Linked DNA regions of Homo sapiens: region 1 is linked to region 2. The links are contacts of gene promoters, found by promoter capture Hi-C in blood cells and fetal thymus (Javierre and others, 2016). All regions are on one chromosome and are shown on one strand. Each heading gives the region's core, a stretch centred on a gene start or on the middle of the fragment in contact. The rest is flanking DNA. Distances are from core to core; before and after follow the strand shown.

Evidence for each region. Contacts are between HindIII fragments. The CHiCAGO score rates a contact against its expected background, and 5 or more counts as called.
Region 1: a contact is called between a fragment that was not itself captured here and the fragment with the promoter of SEC23IP in region 2, in 1 of 17 cell types (total B cells). The highest score is 5.4, in total B cells.

What each region holds. Positions count from the first base shown.
Region 1 is chr10:119,578,196-119,583,490 of GRCh38, forward strand. TIAL1 (TIA1 cytotoxic granule associated RNA binding protein like 1) reads right to left here. Exons shown (of 12, transcript NM_003252.4): 3 at 4,264-4,362; 4 at 3,974-4,028; 5 at 3,727-3,814; 6 at 1,740-1,815; 7 at 531-639. Among named protein-coding and RNA genes, the nearest start is that of TIAL1, 16 kb to the right of the region's middle. The HindIII fragment of the contact is 5,652 bases long and covers 1-4,477 here.
Region 2 is chr10:119,888,984-119,894,051 of GRCh38, forward strand. SEC23IP (SEC23 interacting protein) reads left to right here and starts at 3,747. Exons shown (of 19, transcript NM_007190.4): 1 at 3,747-3,962. The coding sequence starts at 3,800. RefSeq lists enhancers at 123-661, 2,462-2,973, 2,974-3,484, 3,485-3,995. The HindIII fragment of the contact is 6,362 bases long and covers 1,719-5,068 here.

The DNA of each region.
Region 1 (5,295 bases), core at 402-2,901, 310 kb before region 2:
GCCTGGGTGACAGAGCGAGACTCCACCTCAAAAAAAAAAAAAAAAAAAAAAAAAAGATATGCCTCAATGGGAGGAGAAAACATAATTTTTCTTGATGCTATGATTTGACACAGACTTGATCTATAAAATCAGGTGATTCACAGCTCCAAAAATACTTATACCACAGCCCAATTATTTTCAGATAATGAAATATAAAATGAAATAATTAGAGTCTTGCAACACTAATTAAATACTACGTCAGCCTGGACAACGTAACCAGACCCTGTCTCTATAAAAAAATTACAAATTAGCTGGGCATGGTGGCATGTCCCTGTAGTCTCAGTTACTCAGGAGGCTGAGGTGAAAGGATCACTTATACCCAGGAGTTTCAGGCTACAGTGAGCTAAGATCATGCCACCGCACTCCAGCCTGGGCAACAGAGCAAGACCCTGTCTCTTACATAAATAAATTAGAAATTGAGACTAGATGAATACATGATACATGATTTTGTGAAGAATATAATTTTAACACACACAGTGGACATATCTTACTTTCTTGTGTACTTTTAGGTGCAGGTGGTTTACGAGTGGCCCAATTGGTTCGGATTTGACGACCACCCAACCACTGACCGCCCATATGCACAATCGCATTTTCTGCATCCTATGGATAAAAAAGAAAGCACAATCACAAAGAAAAGAGTGATAAATAAGACTCTGTAAGATGAAATAAAATATCGGCGCTGCTGGTTCCATACAAATCAGTAGATGAATTTACTAAATATCCTAAACAAAACGAAACTGAACTATTACCAATTAGAAAACGATTTGAACTTGAGATTCAATCTAAGCAAAAACAGAATACTCTGGCCCTTTATCTTACCACTTCAATAAAATGTAGATGACCTGTAATCCCAGCACTTTGGGAGGCCAAGGCAGGAGGATCACTTGAGATCAGAAGTTTGAGACTAGCCTGGCGAACCCAAGTGAAACCATGTCTCTACCAAAAATATAAAAATGAGCTGGGTGTGGTGGCACATGCTTGTAATCCCAGCTACTCAGGAGGCTGAGGCAGCGCGATCGCTTGAACCCGGGAGGTGGAGGTTGCAGTGGGCTGAGATGGCACCACTGGACTCCAGCCTGGGCAACAGAGCGAGACTCTATCTCAAAAAAACAAAACAAAACAAAACAAAACATTGATTTAAGTTATTGAAACTGCTTTAAAATCAAAGCCCACTTTATTATTTAATGTTACAGTTAATGCAAATGCTTACTTTGGTACCCCTTTTACAAAGAATATATGCAAAAATCAAGATGAATTGCTTAAATTTTTATTTACATAATTTGTTGTAGTCATTCACATCCCAGTTATATAAGAGTATGAATAATAATTTAAAAGGTAGAGTTAAAACTGAGATTTTCATGGTTAAAACTGAATATAATTTACCTAACCTCTAAATTCTCAGATTAGCTCATCTGTCCTAGACTTGGGCTTTACTTCTAAATCCATCTGACCTTTACCAATGTACAAACACAATTTTAATAATCTTCCTTATAGTATAATCATTCTTTTTCTAGCTATTTATTTTCGAGTTTATGAAAGAGGAATGAAATTATACTCTATTATTAAAACATACATAACATTACATAAAAGTTGTGTTTGTAGTTAACATTCAAGTATATTCAAGTTTCAGATTCAATACATTAAGTAACTAATGACTAAATTTAGTATTAAAAAATATAAATTGAGATGGAAGAACGTACCAGTTTGTTATAAAAAGATACAAAACCATAGCCTTTGGATTTTCCAGTTGCCATGTCTTTAACTACCCGGGCATCCCTGTGAAAAGAAGCACAGCTAAATGAGGGAAGTAAGAGCCACCCTCAAAATAAAAACTAAAAGGAACCACACACACTGTATTGTGAGCATTTTTAAAATAAAATTCCAGTTAGCCCTAATTAACTACAACCATTCCTGAACTCTCCCTAATGCTTCTTTACCTGTTAGAAAAAAGCAGTAGGACAAAAACATGTAATAAACATGCAACCTAATCAAATAGCCTGTGCTTTCTAAACTAAATGCTCAAATTTGAAGATTAATAGGAACAACAGTTTCCCTTTCTAATATTCTATTTACTAGTGTCCTCTAAGGTTTACTGATTCTATAAATTACTGTAACAATACTAACTACTTTACCATGCAATCTCTAAATAGTTAAATGTCTTCTGCCTAGTGATACAAAATATATGAAATATTAAAAAATTGAAAAAGAGGAAAAAATAGGAATTAAAAAGGCATACATGGCCTGTTAACAGATTTCTTTATTTTTCTTGGTCAATTCTCTACCATCATTTTGGAGTTTGGGCAGCTGTAAATTTTGAAAAATTGACATTTTCAGAAATTTAAGAAAGGAGAATAAAAAACTAACAACAATGCTAAGCACACCAGTACGAAAACAACAAATTTACACAGAAATTTTAGTGAGTAAGTTAAATGATTGGAAATATAGAACTCCACTGAATATAGAATGTTAAAATGTAAATACTAAAATATGTATATATAAATAATGTATAATAAGAATAAATAGAAATGAGAAAAAAAATCTACAACTGAGTTCCAGTGTGCACAGTTCCTTGCAGTTAGCCTTCAAGATCCTGTCCATTCTTATGAGCAATTCTGCAAAATAACCAGAATGCTATTACTTTTAATTGTGACTTGGACTTAAGAAAAACTGCAGGTCTCAGGTATAAATAAAGATTGAAAAACAGCAACCTGTATTATTTTTATATTGATTTTTAAAATAGTACTACTTACCACATTTAGATTAAAAAGCAAAGCAAATATCAAAACAGAAAGTTAAGAATTACATCTTTTAAAGAAATTAAATCTATAGAACAACAAATTGTATAGAGAAAATATTGTTGTTCTTAGTTGAAACACTTTCCTGTAAAGTAGTACTAAGATGTTTAATTTAAATCTACAGGAAATATACAAAATAAACTGATTTTAATCAGAAAGATAAATTATGATAAACATTTTCTACAATTCATAACCATTTTTAGTTTTCCAATATATTTTTTACCAAGTAACAACAGTAAAATCTGAGCATAAATTTGTTAAAAATCAAACCACATTTGCCTCTTAACTAGTAGAATCAAATATCACTAACAAAAACATCTAATTAATCCCACATTTATGACTCATACATTGAAACATTTTAATAGTATAATAGTACTTTTCACTTATAGCTAAAATATCAAAAACACATTTATCATAATAAAACATGAACATTTCCAATTTAATCACAATATATCCAAGGATTTACCTACTCTCCCCCATTTATAAATTCCTCCTATAAAAGTTATTGAACTCTTACACAGTATAGATCACATTTACTTTTGATTAACTCATTATCCTAAACCATCAAATTTTGAAAACATATGACAAAAAGCTAGACTTTATAAGTTTTACCATTCAAACATCTGCTTCAAAGATAACAAACAGAATCACTTAAATTTTTTTTAACATATTATACACAGGATTAGATGAAAACGAGACCCCAAGACACTGAAATGACATTAACATTTTCAACAACATCCACTACTCAAAACAAACCAAAATAAATAAATGAAAAATAAGAAACAAAACAAAACCATACTAACTAGAGAAAGAAAATCTTAATTCAATTACAAGTTAATCATATACAATTCTGCCTATCATGACTGAGTGTAGTACTGATTATGATACTTACGATATTTTACCAAAGGGGGCAAATGCTGATTTGATATCTTCTGTTGTAATTTCTGGACTCAAATCCCCAACAAACACATGGAAGTGATCTGAAATCAGAGCATTTGGTAATCAAATACTTAAGAAGTCAGCCACTAAAACCTTTTTAAGGCAACTCTAGAGGAGGAAAAAAAAACCTATTTAAGCTGGTAATGCCTCCTGGATAATTTCAGAACTCTTCCACAGTAAAATGCAGCAGGAGTACTTACTGGAAGTATCTTTTTTCTGGCTACTTGGTGTGGTTGCCCAGTTTACTTTGACCTCCTAAAAATAAAGATTATATTTAATAAAATTATTAGGCATGTCATGAGTTACAACACTTACCACTTATTAAATCATTTATCAAGCAGGGTTATTTTTGTAAAAGCACTAAGCTGAATAAAGCAAAACCATCACTCAGCAGCCGAATATCTGCTCAAAAATTTGCCTAGAAAGAATACAAACTAGTTTGACATGCAAATATATGTACTCATAAGGTGCCATCATCCTATTATCTTACCTTTCCCAAAATTTTTCTCCCATTCATAGCAGCTAATGCAGCAGCTGCATCTCTGTGTTCATAAAATTCCACAAAGCAATATGGGTCATTGCTTGTATGCTGCAAAACAGAAAATCCAACAGAAGAGTTGACCCTTCTGCTATCGGGTTGCTGAGAAGAAAATCCAGGAAAAAACATTACTGATAGCTGGGAATATACAAGGTGAGACTGCATAAGCTTATGAAAGCCTAACACTTTTTAAATAAGATTTAAAGCTAAACCTGACTTTGCACCTCAGAATACTGCTGAACTCAAACGGAACTATAAAAGCAGTTGTAGAATCATGAGCATCAGTATTAAATGAAAATAAAGAATTCTGGTGAAGTGTGTTAAATATAAAATAGAAGATTATATTAAACCAAACAAAACCTCAAACTCAGATCTGATGAGGACCACTCCTTACCACTACTTTCCTTCTCCAATATTATTTTTAAATTACGTTCTACTTATGCATCATAATCCTCTATAAGTGGTATCCCAGGATACAGAAATACAGCAAGAACCAACTTCATAAACTACTGATCAAAATTAGGATCAATACTACAAATGATGGAATTCTATGCTGCTACAAAGACTGAATTTTATTGATTTCTTTTCTGGATATGGAAAGAATGAAAATAAAAACAAGAAAACTTAAGCTTTATAACCAGCTACTGAAATGAATTCCCTACCTTCCAAAATAGTCTAATGTACTGAAGATTCTATATACTTTGAATTTGGTCTTCCAAAGATCAGAGAAATAACAGTGGTGATCAAGAAAAGAGGTTCTGAAAATGTATCTGAATAAAATATTCCAAGACAAAGCTATAAGTTTACATCATAAGAACACCATATAAAAAATCTATATTAAATATATTCTGCAACCCTGTGCTTGACAGTAGTTACCTAAAACACATTTATAAAGATGTGAAGAAAGTAGTACTACCTAAGCTATAGCAACATTCTCACCTGACAACCAAACTAGAAATGAATTTCTATGAAACTGCAACCTGT
Region 2 (5,068 bases), core at 2,497-4,996:
GAGAGAGAAAGAGACAGAGACAAAAAAGGAGTCAAAGAGAGAAAGAGACAGAAAGTCAAAGAGAAAGAAAGAGAGAAAGGGAGAGAAGTAGTAAAGAAAAAACAGTGTACCCTATTCCTTTAAAAGCCAGAGTAAATTTAAAACCTATAATTGATAATTGAAGGTCTTCTCCATGACCCTGTAACACTCCAACACCACCTGGTTGTCAGTGTAAACAAGGGCATAGCCCGAAAGCACTGAGGCCACTGACAACCCATAGCCTTCCTATCAAAAATCCTTAACCCAGCAGGTTTCCTAACAGGGGATCTAAATCTTAATTACCATACAAAGGTCCAACCAGATCTAGGAGGAACTCCCTTCAGGACAGGACTATAGCTGGTTCCTCCCCAGCGATTAAGGGAGAAAGACACAATGAGTATTCAGTAAGTGATAAGGAAACTCTTGTAGAAGCAGAGTTAGGAAAATTGCCTAATAATTGGTCTGTTCAAACGTGCTCCAGCTATCAGTACTCAGCCAAACCTTAAAGTACTCACAGAATCAGGAAGAAGCCATCTATACCAATTGTAAGTTAATATGGATTGAACAAGGTCTTATTAATACAAAGAATAATTGAAATCCCAAACTTACAAGGTTTTCAACAAAAGTAAAGTTTGCTAAAAGTTAACAGTGTAACATATATTATCCTACTACCACACACTCTCAAAGGATTTCTCAGACAGTTTGCAAGAAATAACAAAATCTATCCTTATTCTACAATTCCAAATAGACTCTTTGGCAGCAGTGACCCTCCAAAACCACCGAGGCCTAGACCTCCTCACTGCTGAGAAAGGAGGACTTTGCACCTTCTTAGGGGAAGAGTGTTGCTTTTACACTAACCAGTCAGGGATAGGATGAGGTGCCGCCTGGTGTTTACAGGAAAAGGCTTCTGAAATCAGACAACGCCTTTCAAACTCTTATATCAACCTCTGGAGTTGGGCGATATGGCATTTCCCCTTTCTAGGTCCTGTGATGGCCATCTTGCTATTATTCACCTTCGGGCCCTGTATTTTTAACCTCCTTGTCAAATTTGTTTCCTCTAGGATTGAGGCCATCAAGCTACAGATGGTCTTACAAATGGAACCCCAATGAGCTCAACTAACAACTTCTACTGAGGACCCCTGCACCAACCCGCTGGCCCTTTGACTGGCATAAAGAGTTCCCCTCTGGAGGACACTACAACTGCAGGGCTCCTTCTTCAACCCATCCAGCAGGAAGTAGCTACAGAGGTCATTGCCCAATTCCCAACAGCTCTTGGGGTGTCCTCTTTAGAGGGGGGATTGAGAGGTGAAGCCAGCTAGACTTCCTGGGTTGAGTAGGGACTTGGAGAACTTTTCTGTCTAGCTAGAGGATTGTAAATGCACCAATCAGTGCTCTGTGTCTAGCTGAAGGACTGTAAATGCACCAATCAGCACTCTGTAAAAACACACCAATCAGTGCTCTGTGTCTAGCTAGAAGATTGTAAATGCACCAATCAGCACTCTGTAAAAATGCACCAATCAACACTCTGTGTCTAGCTAAAGGATTGTAAATGCACCAATCAGCATTCTTTACAATGGACCAATCAGCGCTCTGTAAAATGGACCAAGCAGCAGGATGAGGGCAGTGACAAATAAATAAATAAAAGCTGGCCACCCGAGCCAGCAGCAGCAACCCAGTCAGGTCCCCTTCCACGCTACGGAAGCTTTGTTCTTTCGCTCTTCACAATAAATCTTGCTGCTGCTCACTCTGGGTCTGTGCCACCTTGAAGAGCTGTAACACTCACCACAAAGGTCCGCGGCTTCATTCTTGAAGTCAGTGAGGCCAAGAACCCACCGGAAGGAACCAACTCCGGACACATGACCACTGAGAACTGTCTTCTCAAGGACCTGGGGGTTTGTCTCTTGAATTGCAAGCCTTCAAGGAGGTGGTTCTCATTCTCATTCCCAGTCCCTGTGGCTACCTTGCTCTCTTACACCACTGCTTGTCATGAAGACAGAAAAATTATGTCTCCTCTGGATAAGCATGGATTAACACACCCAGATGGCCTAGTTGCAGGACGAACCAACCCTTCACACTCCTCAGCACCTTTCCCTTAGCACACCACAGCCTCTAAAAAGCCTCCAAATTTTTGTTTCAGCAAAGTTGTGTTCAGTTCATGCTGGACCCAATTCCCTAGCAATAGTTTTCATTAAATAAAATCTAATTTACTGCTTTAACGAGTGTCCCACTTAAAAAATTTTTCTTGACAGTAAGCACATGAAATCGTTATTGAATTAATAAACTTAGGTTCTATATATGTGTAAACAGCTGAGCAGAGTTTCATTATTTTGAGCGTTCTTTTGGTATCTCCTCTCCCAACCTCCAAGAAGCTGAAATATGGCTTAAGTTATATTTTCCTTCAAAATCTCTAACTATGAAAGATGACAATTATGTCCAAGTTATCCACAGTACCTCCTGGATTGAAGTAAGTCAGCTTACTGTGGATATAGAAAGCTATCTAAAATGTCAGATCTCTAATTTCAATGCCCTGGTTTCTTTTTTTTTCTTTTTTTTTTTTTTAAGGAGACAGGGTCTCGCTGCACAGTGAGTGGCAAGATCAGGGTTAATTTGGCCTCAAGCAATATTCCCGCCTCAGCCTCCTGAGTAGCTGGCAATATAGGTGCTATGCCACCAAGCCCGGCTAATTTTTGTATTTTTAGTAGAGACGGGGTTTCACCATGTTGGCCAGGTTGGTCTCAACCTTCTGGGCTCAAGCTATCCTCCCGCTCTGCCTCACAAAGTGCTGGGATTGCAGGCCTGCGCCATGGCGTCTGGTTTGATTTCTCTTTTAAATATTTTTTTTGGCCAGGCGTGGTGGTTCATGCCTATAATCCCAGCAGTTTGGGAGGCCAAGGCGGGCAGATCACGAGGTCAGGAGATTGAGACCATCCTGGCCAACCCGGTGAAACCTCGTCTTTACTAAAAATACAAAAAATTAGCCAGGCGTGGTGGCGGACGCCTGTAGTCCCAGCTACTCGGAGGCTGAGGCAGGAGAATCGCTTGAACCCGGGAGGCGGAGATTGCAATGAGCCCAGACTGCACCGCTGCACTCCAGCCTGGGCGACACAGCAGACTTGTCTCAAAACAAAAAACAAAACCAACCAAAAAAACAAAAAACAAATGCAAAACAAAAAACAACAAAAATAAAACGAAATATTTTTTTCTCCCTATGGATTAAACACTTAAAAAATGTTTTACCACTTCTATTTCTGGGTCAACCACAATGTTCGGTTCCATCCAGAAAGACAAGTGGGTTTTGGAGAGGGTGTTTGGTTCCGCCTAGCATGCGAATTCCCATTCCCGCACAACGCTCTTCCTCCCTTCCTCCTTCCGGTAGCGTCCAGCAGGATTCCGCTGTTCCTCCAAAATCTTTGTCAGGAGAGCCATCCTGACGGTACCTTTAGGAAGCCCATAGATACCCGCCACAACCTGTGACTTTCAGGGTCAATTGCGTCTCAATTCGCACGTCTATCCAGAACCTGCGGGGACCACGTCCCCATCCTCCCGCCCGGCCTCCGCCTCCGAGGGTGTCACGTGCTAGACGCGGGCGTGAAGACAGTGTCGCCATGTTGATATCTGGCGTCGCCGTGTAGGGGAAGGGAGAGGGCGGCTGACTAGCTACCCGTAATTTCGGCTCCTGTGCGCAAGTGCGGAAGTGCGCTGGCCAGGAGCGTGATCGGTTTCCGGTCAGTGGTGTGGTACCGGGTACCCGGAGACGTGTATCGGACGGTGGGCCGCAGCCATGGCCGAGAGAAAACCTAACGGTGGCAGCGGCGGCGCCTCCACTTCCTCATCGGGCACTAACTTACTTTTCTCCTCCTCGGCCACGGAGTTCAGCTTCAATGTGCCCTTCATCCCAGTCACCCAGGCCTCCGCTTCTCCGGCCTCCCTGCTCTTACCGGGAGGTAATAAGGGGAGGGCGGCCCCGTGTGTGGTGGGAGGCGGGCGGGGGACGTGCAATGACAAAGGTCAGACGGGAGTTTTTCCTTCTGCCTCGAGCTACCCTCTGGATAGCTTGCCAGGATCATTACTGGCCAGGTTTGAGTGGGTCGGGGGCTTTGGGATCTTGGAGGTGGCAGGTGATGAGACTTGCTCTTCACGGAAACCCCCTGTTCCGAGTTGTCCAGAGTGCTGGACATTCATTCGTACCCTGGCATTCCGCAAATCTTTGCTGAATACCCGTTGTTGGTACGCCAGGTGCTGGCAGGAAATGCAAATAAATTAAACAGTGGCCCTCTCCTAGGGTACAGTAGTCTGTCTCCCACTAGGAGACTCCTAGGATACGGTAAGATACCTCCTAGGATGGACTGTGCCCCTCTCCTAGGATACGGTACACTGTCTCCTACTAGGAGATTGTTGTGATACAGTACAATATCTTCTAGGTTACAGTAAGATATCTTATAAGATGGACTGTGCCCCTCTTCTAGAAGCCTGTAATATTTGTGAAGTAGACATATACAATGCATTCCTTATCTTTTTTTTTTTTTTTTTTTTTTTGAGACGGAGTCTTGCTCTGTCGCCCAGGCTGGAATGCAGTGGCGCGATCTCGGCTCACTGCAGCCTCCACCTTCCAGGTTCAAGTGATTCTCCTGCCTCAGCCTCCCGAGTAGCTGGGACTACAGGCGTCTGCCACCATGCCTGGCTAATTTTTGTATTTGTAGTAGAGACAGGGTTCCACCATGTTGGCCAGGATGGTCTCAATCTCCTGACCTCAAGTGATCCGCCTGCCCTGGCCTCCCAAAGTGCTGGGATTACAGGTTTAACCCCCCACCCATTCCTCATCTTTCAAGACAATACATCACTTCTTCCAAGAAGCTGTTTCTTGTTCTCTTAGGCCCCCACTCCTATGTGCACTCCTAGCTCTTTTTTCATATTTGTATTATTGTCCAGGGAGATTGCTTTTTGATGATTATGTAGCATTGCCCAGAGCATAGTGTTTAAGAGCACAGACTGTCTGTATTCCAGTCCTTGCCCTGCCAGTAACTTGCTGTGTGACTGTAGGCATTTTACT